3 separate regions of the Homo sapiens genome follow, and all the other regions are linked to region 1. Evidence: promoter capture Hi-C in 16 types of primary human blood cells and fetal thymus (Javierre and others, 2016). All regions are on one chromosome and are shown on one strand. The core of a region is centred on a gene start or on the middle of the fragment in contact, and the rest is flanking DNA. Distances in the headings are between cores, read along the strand shown.

The links. The method cuts DNA at HindIII sites, captures the fragments that hold promoters and counts their contacts. A CHiCAGO score of 5 or more calls a contact.
Region 2: a contact is called between a fragment that was not itself captured here and the fragment with the promoter of DUSP22 in region 1, in 1 of 17 cell types (activated CD4 T cells). The highest score is 8.4, in activated CD4 T cells.
Region 3: a contact is called between a fragment that was not itself captured here and the fragment with the promoter of DUSP22 in region 1, in 6 of 17 cell types (activated CD4 T cells, total CD8 T cells, naive CD8 T cells and 3 more). The highest score is 9.7, in activated CD4 T cells.

Annotation. Positions count from the first base shown.
Region 1 is chr6:291,237-295,471 of GRCh38, forward strand. It overlaps DUSP22 (dual specificity phosphatase 22), which reads left to right and starts at 1,251. Exons shown (of 7, transcript NM_001286555.3): 1 at 1,251-1,324. The coding sequence starts at 1,304. RefSeq lists enhancers at 214-503, 430-930, 931-1,431, 1,724-1,983 and silencers at 614-1,633, 2,378-2,534, 2,414-2,473, 2,484-2,543. The HindIII fragment of the contact is 6,707 bases long and covers 1-4,235 here.
Region 2 is chr6:583,221-587,455 of GRCh38, forward strand. All of the region lies in intron 11 of EXOC2 (exocyst complex component 2), which reads right to left. Among named protein-coding and RNA genes, the nearest start is that of HUS1B, 72 kb to the right of the region's middle. RefSeq lists an enhancer at 1-650. The HindIII fragment of the contact is 1,934 bases long and covers 821-2,754 here.
Region 3 is chr6:560,539-564,773 of GRCh38, forward strand. It overlaps EXOC2 (exocyst complex component 2), which reads right to left. Exons shown (of 28, transcript NM_018303.6): 15 at 4,007-4,164; 16 at 3,495-3,616; 17 at 2,246-2,307. Among named protein-coding and RNA genes, the nearest start is that of HUS1B, 94 kb to the right of the region's middle. RefSeq lists an enhancer at 3,183-4,235. The HindIII fragment of the contact is 765 bases long and covers 2,129-2,893 here.

The DNA of each region.
Region 1 (4,235 bases), core at 1-2,500:
GGCAGGTATGCAGAGAGCTGGGGATCCAGGTGTCTGGATAGAGAGCACAGCCCAGCAAGCCTGACAGGCTCAAGGAACAGACAGGAGACCAGCATGTGTGTAACTCGCTTAGCAAGAAGATAAAATGAAGTCAGCAGGGGTGAGCCAGGGCACGTCAGATTGACGCATGTACTCATTCAGCAAATATTTATTAAGCACCTACTATGTTCAGGACATTGTTGAGGATACATAAATTAAGAAGAAAAACCACTGGCTCAAGGATTCTGTCGCTGGAGAGAAACTTCAGAGTTTAATAACGTTGATAGAACACCCAAAACAATTCTGCTACAGTTTAGAAATTGATCCATTCCAGACAGAACCACAATGCAGACATTAAGGGACACACATCATCTAAGGCCGTGAGGTCTGAGGTCAGAGATCCAGCCATCTGCTCCCCCAGGGTAGGGAGGTCGGGCCTCCCCGGGGTGAGTCACGTAGCCCACCTCTCCCCACCAGGCGAGGCTTCTCGGTCTTGGTGCATGGGGCAGGGCCGCAGGAAATCCCCCAGCCTAAATCTGCCGCACTCAGAAAACCCAGGCAGGGGAGCCCCCAGAGACCAGGCCTCTGATTAGCACCTGATTCACGGAGGCAGCCAAGGCTGGGTAGCGACTGCTGGTAACTGGCCCCCGGAGTCGCCCCAGGGGAAAAGGCCAAAGGGGGATCTGGAGACCCCCGGCCGGGGAGCGGGCTCCGAGACGAGCGCAGCCGCCCGGTCAGGGCAGCGCCTGCGCGTCCGCCAGGCCCCGCCGCGCAGCCTCGGGTGTCCCGGCGGGGCGGCTCGGGCCGCGCACGCGCTCTGGCCTCCGGGGCCGGCCGCCTGGGAGCCCGAGCCTAGTGCCTCCCACGCCCGGCGGCCGCGAGCCGGGGTCCGCGAGGGCGGAGTGGGGCGCGGCAGCCAGGAACCCGACTACGAATCCCAGGGTGCGGGCGGGCGGAGCGAGGAGGGACGCTGGGCCTGCCCGGTGCGCACGGGGGCGGGGACCGGCAAGGCGGGACCATTTCCCGGCATAGGCTCCGGTGCCCCTGCCCGGCTCCCGCCGGGAAGTTCTAGGCCGCCGCACAGAAAGCCCTGCCCTCCACGCCGGGTCTCTGGAGCGCCCTGGGTTGCCCGGCCGGTCCCTGCCGCTGACTTGTTGACACTGCGAGCACTCAGTCCCTCCCGCGCGCCTCCTCCCCGCCCGCCCCGCCGCTCCTCCTCCCTGTAACATGCCATAGTGCGCCTGCGACCACACGGCCGGGGCGCTAGCGTTCGCCTTCAGCCACCATGGGGAATGGGATGAACAAGGTAACGTCTTCCCTCGTTCGCGCTGGGTTTGCCTCCGCTCCGACGCCCTGCCGTCTCGCCGGCGTCGGCTGCCCGACGACTCGAGCCCGGGGTGCCCTTTCCCGCGGTGGGGACGGGCGCGGAGGGAGGGGCGGCGCGCCTGGGCGGCGACCGCGGAGTCGGGGTTCGGAGGTGTTCCCGCCCCCACCCCACCCGGCTTCCGGGTAGGCAGCCCCCAGCCGCCTGCCTTGCCAGCCGGTGCGTTTTCGTGGCTGAAACAAGCCGCGCCCTTTGAAAGCGTTGACACTTGTTCTGCCGAGAGGTCAGCTGAGCTCCGAATGGATGTGGCTTCTTTTTTGCCCTCCTCTTCGCTCCCAAACTACGCTCTTGAAGCCACCACCGCCCCCCCCACATCATTAGTAAACGGGTGTCCTCTGTAATTTCCTCTTTCTCCTCAGATTCTGTGTGTGTGCCTGTGAGCACAGAGAAGTTTTTCTTGTGGACAGAGAAGTTAACAGAGTCCTAAGTCCTGAGCTGTTTCTAGATAGTGGGGAGGAGAGAAAAGATTCAGAGTTGATTAGGTTATGTGACTTCTGCAACAAGGGCAACCTGTTGCTGGCTGCTTGCGCTGATGAGGCCTTCTGGAAAATCTGTGTTGCTCCATTTGTCCCGTCCGTTTCTGGGCCCCACCCTGTGTTCTTTTGTTGCCCGCACCTCACTTCCCGGGCGGTGGGCTAGCCTTTCCCGTCCAGGGAAGTTGCCAGATTCCAGCTCTGGCAGCTGAGAGTTGCCGGGGTGTATTCATGTGAACCACAGGGTTAAGGATTTTGTTACTTGGTACTTGGCTGGTTTCGAGGAAGGATTGACAAGACTTTACAAAGCCCGCAACAAAGACAAGTACCTTTTTACGGGTCTTTGAATGGTCCTGGATTAGATGAGTCGTCTTTCTGCTTCACTTTTTCATTGCGCTCCACCCACCCACATCTCTACATGCCGTCAGCTTCCACACTGGGTGGGGATGGCAATGTGGCTGTGTTTTTTTTCATGTCCCTCAGCACTGGGTCAGCAGTGGTTTGGGTGTTGGGGCTGGAGTGTTGCAAATGCGGATTCACGGTAGGGCAGGGAAAACCTAGCTAACTTTTCACGTGCGCATGTCGTGTTTATTGTGTCCTGGTTACCCAGTTTGTGAAAGAACTATTGTGTGTTTGGGACCTGCATATCAATACTGGGGTATTTTGGTAAAGAGAATTGTATTCACTTTTTTTTTTTTTTTTTTTTTGGCGAGTGATCAAGTTTGGAAACAGACTGTCTCTCTCTTGGATAAATACTTGTATTATATTCCGATGAGCACTGGAATCCATCAGCACCACGAGCCTTCTGCTTTTTAAATTAAAACAGAACAATAAAGATGGTCATCATAAGTCTGTGGGCTCCGTTTGCCTTCCCATTGGTGGTGGTATCTCAGCTTTCCTTTGGCTGTTTCTAGTTTTCCCACTTGAGCTGTTCACTCTCCACCGTTTTCAGCATTTAATTTATAGTATTTGTGTAATACAATTCAAAAAATATATTTAGGAATACAGATGGTTGCCTAAGGGATCAACGTTATTTTCATGCTTTTCAACAAAAGCAGTAATATTCATATACTTTTTACCTTTCAAAATGGGTAATAAATTTCTTGACTTTTATTATCTTGTGAATAGAGACTCACAGTGTATCAATGAAGAAATACATGTATAGAGAGATTTAGAGACTTCCCTGCTTCAACACTTATTGATTATGTACATACTATGAGCCAGGTGTTGTGCTAGTGGGTGGGGAGGGGGCAAAGGGAGTACAGTGGTAAATGACCCAAAGATTCTTCACAGAACCTTCAGTACAGGTCAGCATTGTCCAGCACTAATATGATGCGAGCTATATATGTAACTTAAAATGTTCCGGTAGCCACATTAAAAAATAAACCGGTGAAATTAATTTTAATAATATATTTTATTTAACAATATATTAAAACTATTGTTTCAACATGTAACCAATATATAAAGTTATTCATGGAAGATTCCATGTTTTTTACTATGTCTTTGTGAAAGGAAAAATCTCGGGACCCCCAGATCACTTAACCTTCAAAGTCTAGTGTGTATTTTATGCCTAAATCACATCTCATTTTGGACTAGCCACATTTGGAGTACTCGATAGTCACTGTGGCTAATGGCTGCTGTGTTGCACAACACAGGGTGTGTATGTGTGTGGGGGTGAGAGAGAGAACAAACACAAGGTAGGGAGGAGTAGAGGCTCCAGAGGATAAAATAGGCAATTTCAGAAAAGTGGGGAAAGCAGAAGATGGGATGAAAGTGACCTAGAAGGGGCATTCAGCCCAGGCAAGGAATCCTGCTGCAGTAAACATGTTTAACGTGAGATCAGGAGGAACTACCCCAAATCACAAGGTTCATTAGTGGCAAAGTAGATCGCAGGAGGCCAGTAACTTAAGAACCTTAACTAGAACTTTTCCATATATTACTGTGTGACTTGGAACGAGGCTTCATCTGTAAAAAAAGAAGAATGGTTGATTTGCAGAATCAGCGGAAGGTGCTACCCCTAGAAATCCTTTTCTAAGAACATTTATAAATATGTGCAATGTCTTTGGAACTAACATAACTTGGAATGTGTGTGCCCTGAGGTTACTGGGACAAGATTTCTTTCCAATCTCGTACACATTGGTCATTTTTGGCAAAAGAGCATTTCTGGTCTAAACAGTGCACGCTGCATTCTGAGTGCTTTGGGACAGCAGTTTTTATCATTCACATCCCTGTGGTGGCTCTTCTTGTCGGTCCGTTCCGGGCTCCTGTACGGCGGAATATTGTGCCCGTTTCCGTTAGGTGTACGCAGCAGATTATACAGAAGATGGAGGGGAAAAAGGCTTTTATATTCTAGAAAATTA
Region 2 (4,235 bases), core at 538-3,037, 290 kb after region 1:
AATTACCAAGTAAAGTTAGCATTCAATGTGTGTTTGACATTCATCATCAAAATTTTTTTTCTATGAAGGATGGGGACAAGTTTAGACATGAAATGACTTCCGGCTGCCAGAAGTCTTCTTCCAGATGCACAGTAAGCCAGGGCAGTGGAAAAGAACCAGCTGCTACAATCACAAATTGACAAGGTCCTTTTCACATAGCCTTTTTGGCCTGTGTGATCTAAAAAAGATTATTCATTGTAAGGTGAATAGAATCTATTACAAAACAGGAGACACAAAAAAAAGAGACCTTAATCCAACTTTTTCTTGTGATATTCAACAGCTGTTACTTTACTACATGGGGATCTACAAATGAGTGCTATGCTATTCCAAAAGAAATCAAATTCTCAAGTCCCAGGTTACTGACTTCTTCCACTTCCCTCTCCTGAATCTACTTTCTCACTGTGTGCACATACGCTGCATACATAGCGCAGCTTATACATCTTAAAGCAGGTAAATAAAACCCCACTAAGCATTTCATCTTCCAAAGACAATTTTGAAAAACTCTGTCATCACAGCATGCAAACGAACAAGTGCACAGCAGAAGCCTTCCCTGGAGGTCCGCCCACTGGCAGCCGTACACAGGTCACAAAGGCACCACCCCAGTGCTGAGCTGCAGGGAGGGCAAGATGGAAAGAAACTAGCATCTCATATCTGTGCTCGCTGCAGTTGTGCCTTTCCTTTTTTTAAACCAACCTCTCTCAACCTGGGTTCAGGCTGTGATCAATATTCAGGAGAGAAACAATTTTTTAAATCTCTAGAAAATTAACTCCATAAAAAAAGAAGCTTCCTAATGTGCAACCTTATTATGATAACTTTAAAATTAAAATGATAATTTTATTAAAAGATTTAGCACATATACAACAATACACTTACACTGACTTTTTAACTATGAAATTATTTGCGTGGTTCCACAGAAAATTCAATGAATCTGCTAATGGTTTCCTAATGGGGGCTGTAATTTAATCTCGCATACAGGAAGTCTACCTGACCCTGCATTATGGTAATACCAGAATTATATGTAATATTAACCCCAATAATATTTGTAAAAATGATATAAAATATGTACGTAAAGGTCCTAGCTGTATTTTTTAAAATAGCAAGATATAACAGTTTATACTATGTAAATTCAAAATCATAAATTGTAATACTATGATTTATGCATGTATGTTATGAGCTTGTACTGAAAATATGGACTTTGTGTATCTTAAGGTTCTTGGAGTAACATAAATGTTTTTATTTCTTTCAGCAAGTAATTAATACTCTAGTGAGTGTCAGAAATTATTAAAAGGGTAGATGTTTAGCACAGCCTGTTATTCAGTTTTCTTTCTATAATAGCTCCACCACTGTGAAGACTCGAAATAAACCACTCAGATGGAACATACCATCTCTAAGTTTTCAAAGAGAACCTGAGCCAGGTATAAATGTCTTTTCTTCTGCTCTGCGGCTATTCTCGAGAACTTACTGCTTACTTAACAGTGTGGCCATGTTCTAAATGTTGCCTACTGAACCCTAATTCTAATGATGTCCTTTTAGAAGTTCTAATTAAGTGCATCTCTGAAAGAAGGTAACACTTTCTCTATGAGTAGCCTGATGCCTTCTCCCTTAAGTTATCAGACATAGCCAGCATATATTTTAACTCACATTCAGAACAAAGAAAAAAACACCTTTGAAGACCACCTTTAAAAATCCTGTTTGTGAATGTCAGTAGGGGGTTAACCAAAGGCTTTTCCTGGCAGGAAACCTCTGAAGACGCAGTCTAATTTTGGACCTATTTCACAGGAATTTTAAGAGACGGGTGACACTTCTTAATAAGGTAGTAAAAGTTTAACATGTATAACAATTCAGAACACAAGGCTGCTTTGAACATAGGGGAAGAGAAGCAAAATGGTTAACCTGTTCAGGCTGGACAAACACCATAAACTCTTCCATCAGTATTTAGAAGGTTTCAAGATGAGTTTTTAAAATATTAACCTTAGTTTTGCTCTTGTTTTTCCCATCTTTTTCCACCCTTAGAAAAACCTAAATGATCACATTTGGGCTACAGAGTTAGAGGATGCAAGAGGCATGTGGAGCGTTTGGGGGTAAAGGACCAGGTGTGTGAGGTGCAAGGGTGAGCTCCTGTCCTGGCCTCGTGTTATACTCCGAAGGGCACCATCTGCTAGCACCAGTGTATATTATTACTACAAAAACGAGTCCAGACAAGGATCTAATGCAGGACTCATAGAATTATCAACTGTACGGCAAACTCTGCTGCCAAATGCTTCATCTACAAAAGGAGCTTTCTCGGAAAAAGGTAGCTTTGTATGTAGGACTGCTGTCTCTGAAAATCTGTCACCATCTTTGCTCATAACATTTTCTCTGAATACCACAGGGCTACATACAATTAACATTTTTTTCCCAAACCACCAAAGTGAAAAGCAAAAGTCTTTGCTTTAAAAAAGCAGACTTAAAAAAATATTTATATGTTAGATTTCTTAGATTCATGCACAAAGACCACATTTACTTTAAACAGACATCAAGAATTATTTTTCCGTTTGAAATATTTATAGTCTATCCATTTAAAATTGCATTTCATTTCACAAAGCTATTCTTCTTCTTATCCATTGTTCTGCTAGTGGATTTACCTAAACAACTTTACAGTGTTAGTAGTCTAAGTACAGATATTATAATAAAGGAACTACTTAAAACTTGTTTTCTTTATATTGGAATGTAGTAAGCTTTCATTTTAAAAGCAGGCTCCTGAGAAAACCCGCATAAAAACAATGTAGCTTTATAACAAAGTACCAGATAAAATGTAGGCAGTCCTTTTACCGCAGATCATTTGTAAGCAATTTCTTACGGTAGTAATTGTGTTTTCAAATGCTCTAGCCTTCAGTAGACAGCTATAATCAATTCAAGGAAACAGCAGGTGCCAAGCAAACAAGTAAGTACTCTGTCACCGAGCCCCGGGCATCAGAAAATAACCAGACACACTCGAGTCAAGAGAGAGGTGGCATCCGCTGCAGGCTGCCGGCTCTGAAGCTTTACATCCAATGTATGTGCCATGAGTTCCTTTGGCTCTGATGGGGGCACTGCGGGCCTTCCCAGGGACAGCCTTACATTTCCCAGGATCCCTCCTAAGGGACTGGATGCTCTCTCACTCACCTCCATTTTCTTAACTTGCTCATTCTCAGAGCATTTATTTACATTGCACATATAATTTTAGAAGTGAGTGATGAGGTCTGTGTAAAATTTCCTTAATAGAATTCACCTATGTATAGCAAAATAGCATAAAAGTAATAAAGACCAGAAGCACTTCATCGAGCTTGGCTAGTTTCAGGTGCAGCTCTTCATGAATCCCCAAATACCAGCCAGCCTTCCCTTACCAGGGGAACGCTCACCTGCTCTGACATCACATTGAGAAATCCTGTTTGATGCAATATTTGCTCCAACAATGTAACTCAGAGGGAGGTGTTCAGTAACCTATTCCATAACTCACTGGTCTGGAGGGAGTGTGATCAGGTGAGAGGGGGAGTGACCTGGACACCCACTAGTCCCACCCCTGCTCAGGATACGGAGGACGTGTCTGGACACCCACTAGTCCCACCCCTACTCAGGATACGGAGGACGTGGGTCTGTCCTGTGGCTTCTCTGAGACACCTTTGTCACATGCGAAATAGAGCTAAAGGCATCCACAAAACTAGACAGTTTCCCAGATTTCTTCCACATCTAAAATGTCACAATTATGAGAGGATGCTCAAAGGAAATTCCAAACAATATTTAGTAGGCATTCCCCCATATTACCTTACATTTATATTATATATAATTAGGACAATAATAAAACATCCACCAAGGGTCCCTAGTCAACAACAGTTGTAGATCACACAAAAGAAAATTTGTGTGTATTCCCAGCAAACTTATAATTAAGGCAAATATTTTATATAAACACACGCACACATACACAAACATAGATATGACATTACCTGTAGATGTAAATGTAGATATGTGTATTTTTTTTTTTTTTGAGACGGAGTCTTGCTCTGTCGCCCAGGCTGGAGTGCAGTGGCACAATCTGGGCTCAGTGCAAGCTCCGCCTCCCAGGTTCCTGCCATTCTCCTGCCCCAGCCTCCCAAGTAGCTGGGACTACAGGCAAATGCCACCATGTCCGGCTAATTTTTTGTATTTTTAGTAGAGACGGGGTTTCACTGTGTTAGCCA
Region 3 (4,235 bases), core at 1,261-3,760, 270 kb after region 1:
GTAGTGCATGTAAAACGTGGAGATGGTTCACATTCTGCCTTTTGTGCAGGTGGTGCAGGTCCATACCTTTCTCTAAAGATTTAGTGTGAGGGAGAATTAGCTATAGACTAGTCACTATTTAAATACAAATAATTGTGACGAATAGAAACCCAATCGATTAAAATTTTCTTTCTTTTTTTTTTTTTGAGATGAGAGTTTTGCTCTTGTTGCCCAGGCTGGAGTGCAATGGCGCGGTCTCGGCTCACTGCAACCTCTGCCTCCCGGGTTCAAGTGATTCCCCTGTCTCAGCCTCCCAGGTAGCTGGGATTACAGGCATGTACCACCGTGCCTGGCTAATTTTTGTATTTTTAGTAGAGACAGGGTTTCACCATGTTGGTCAGGCTGGTCTCGAACTCCTGACCTCAGGTGATCCGCCCGCCTGAGCCTCTCAAAGTGCTGGGATTACAGGCATGAGCCACAGCACCCGGCCCAATTAAAATATTTTTATTAAAAATAAAGCATTTAAAATAGAATCTTAATTGACTTATTAAAAATAATAAACTTCCCTAACTCATTTCAAGCATGATTTAATTTGCAAAAAAGCATTGCTTTTCTAAATCACCTTGTTATATATAAAGTAAGGTACAATGATATATTAACTTAAGATAGGACCTTGAACTTTGGAGGAATAGAATGAGTCAAAAATTCCCCAGCCCCCAGAAGACAGTCCATGAGAAGTACAGTCTGCCCTTCATGCCCCAGGTTCTGCCTCTGTGAATTCCACCAATGGTGGAACTGGCTGGATAGAGAGTCCAAGGATATAGAAAGCCAACTTTTAGGGGCTTGAGAGTCCTCAGATCTTGGTATATGAAGGGATCTGGAACCAGCCTTCGCTGAGGATACCAAGGCACGACTATATAGAAATTCAAGGGAATTTAAAAATACTGTGCAGGATCATTGTTTCCTGATAGCCTGACTCATCACTGGTTTGTAAATCTGGGCAAGTCAAGACCATTTCATTCTAGTTTCCTTATCTGAGGCAGAAACTGCTAGTTGCCTCCTAGGATTGCTATCTTTTTTTCTTTTTTTGACAGAGTCTCGCTCTGTCACCAGGCTGGAGTACAGTGGCGCGATCTCGGCTCACTGCAATCTCTGCCTCCTGGGTTCAAGTGATTCTCCTGCCTCAGCCTCCTGAGTAGCTAGGATTACAGGCGCCCACCACCATGCCCAGCAAAATTTTGTATTTTTAGTAGAGACGGGGTTTCAGCATGTTGGCCAGGATGGTCTCGCTCTTGACCTCATGATCCGCCCACCTCGGCCTCCAAAAGTGCTGGGATTATAGGCGTGAGCCACCGCACCCAGCCTATCCTTTTTTCTTAATAAGGTAAGACAGAAAACAGGAGCAGCCACGTGCTCTCCCGACCTCTGTTGCCAACAGGGACAGGCATGGAATGTGTTCTGACCAATTAGATGGAGGAGAGTTGCAAGTTATGGCTCCTGGGAGGGGACTGGACTTTCTTCCTGACAGCAGCCAGGCCACGAGTGACCCCGAGGCCAGCCTGAGTAGAAGGCAGTGTGAAGGGTCACAGGGAAGAAGGATGGAGGCAGCCCTGGGCACTGACTGTGTGACCACGCTGCCAGGCTGCTGTGAGAGACAGAAGTCCCCCCCTGGTGAAAGCCACTGGGATGTGTCGGCCGCTGCCTGGCCATCGTCACTGGCACAGCCACCCACAGGACCGCGAGGGGCACCCGTGAGACAAGTGTGAAAACCCGTGAAATCATGAAGATGATTTTTAAACCTAAAAGTCCCAGCTGAAAAGATGAAGATTCTAGAAACAGGTCACAGTTGGCTGCCTGGCCTGAGAATGTATCTGCAGTGGTCTGTGGTGGTTGTTTTTGTTTGTTTGGTTTGTTTTGGCTTTGGAGCCAGCAACGTCATCTCTTCTATCCTGCTTTCCGGAAAAGCTCAAGTTGCTGAGTAATTTAGAATTGAGCATACTCTGTTTTTAAAAAACTAATTCAAACAAAAATCGTAAGTTATACAGGATGAAAAAGGTCAAGTCTAAAAGAAACGCATTGTTCTCATTAATTTTTCAATATTTATGGTTCGTGTTAAGCAAAAATGTCTCTGAGAAGAAAACCTTTAAGAAGCTTCTATTTCTATTTAGAGCTGCAACACATGGAGCACATGCTCCCTATTAATATGATAAACTATTTATTTTAAATACACACTAATGACTAATAATTGAAAAGAACTTAAACTTACTAGAGAAGTCAGTCCTTCATTGTCAACAATCCAGTCTTCTTTTTCAGCTAATCTCTTTATTTCTATATGAGAAGAAGCACACAAATACTTTATTATAATTATCTCACTAAATTTTATACAGATTAAAAATGTATACAGGTTATGGTTTTTCATTGTTTTATATAGGTTTGTAAAAACTCGATGAAAGTAGGCAAAGAATATAATTTTGGTAGACTTGATGATTTAAGTACATATTGTTCACTGGATGATTCTACTAAGATATTAATGTGAATAAAAGTTTTTACTGTATAGCCCAATTTGGGGAATTCTACGTTGGATTTAATGACAACTTGAGACAATCATTTATTACTTATTCAGGATTCTTCACAACACTAGGCATGTACAAAATAAGTCATACAGTATTTTTTTTCCTAAAATTTCTGATGAGTAATTTGGCTGTTTTTTGAATCCTACAGATTCCTGACAAGGGCAATATGATTCTCAGTTGGCTAAGGGAATGCCACCTGCTCAAACCTTCGGCCTTGGGGCAGGCTCAGGTTCCTAGGTGAGGAGGAGGTAATCAACTAAGAGGGGAATATCCAACTTCTCACCTGGGTTCCATTCCCTTCCCATTTACACAGTATCGCCCACCAATTTTGCAGAGATGTAAGCTTCCTACCTAAAAAGCCAAGCCTGGTAGTAGATAGTAAAGGCCTGTGCCATTTTAGCAATGTTCTTATTTTTGAAAATATTTAATAACTAAAAGGCTGCTTTGTAAAGAAAACCTTTATGGTTTTTTTATGATTTTATGTAGAAAAGCCTGAAAAATTTAAAAAGTATAAAGAAAACAAGAATCATCTATAATTTCTGGAATCCAGAGAACCAACACTAACAGAGTTTCCTTTGATTGGACATTGATTTCTGTAAATTAAAATTTAAAAATATACATCCATATATTTTCAAAAGTGAGATCAGACTTTATGTACATTTTATACCCTATGTTTTCTACTTAACATTTATCATAACAATATTCTTATATCTTTAAACATTTTCAAGTGTATCCATCTTAGTTTCTGCATGGTCTTAATTCTCAACAATACATCACAAAAAGAAAAAACACTTATTGAGCAGCTAGAAATAAGATGAACTAATATATTCCAATTTCCAGAAGAGTAATTTTCCCTTGTTTTCAAGGATTTGGACACTGAAAGGAGGTGGCACATTCAGATAATCATTGCACAGTGAACGTCACCGATTTATCAAAACACACCTTCCGCCGTGTGCTGCAACGTGGCCATTACGCAACGTACTCGGAGATCCAAGATGAGATCCTGGATAGTCTGTAACAGGTCATTAGGAATTTCAAGGGCAGTCAACGATTCATGAGTAAGTCTGCGAACAAACACATCCAAACAGAAGTGAGCAGAGTGGGATCGCAAAGCAATCCCTAGCATCTCTTTCACTGTATAATCATTCCTCACGGAGCTTACGAGCTACAGCATTAGGCTGAAAACAGAAACAGACCACAACTGGGACTGTACTGTCAGAGTAATACTGAGTGAAACAACGGAGAAGATGCGTAAACTCAAGAACATTCTAGTCCAACACAAAAACCAGGAACAGTGAGGAGCTTAGCTGTCAGATGATGAACAGGAAACAGTGGAGGCAAAAGGACAAAAAGAAGAAAAAGAAGAATTTCTTCTTCACTGAATGTATTAATTCTTTCCAAAAAGTTAAAAAAAACAGAAGTACGCCTTTCTCTGAGAATGTGTCCATACTCACCTTACAGTCTGGATGGCGTGAGCGAGCCACTGTCCGGAGAGCTCGCACTTCACCTCCCAGCCTCCGTACTGCTTGGCTTCCCCATCCCGGATGCTGAGGGGAAGCAGGGCTCCGCGGGTAAGCTTCACCAGGGAGTGCATTACTTCCTGAATCATTTTCTAGAAAACCAGGAACAAGCATAACCGTGTTCAAATGTGATTAATCGGGTTACATTAACTAAAAGATGCTG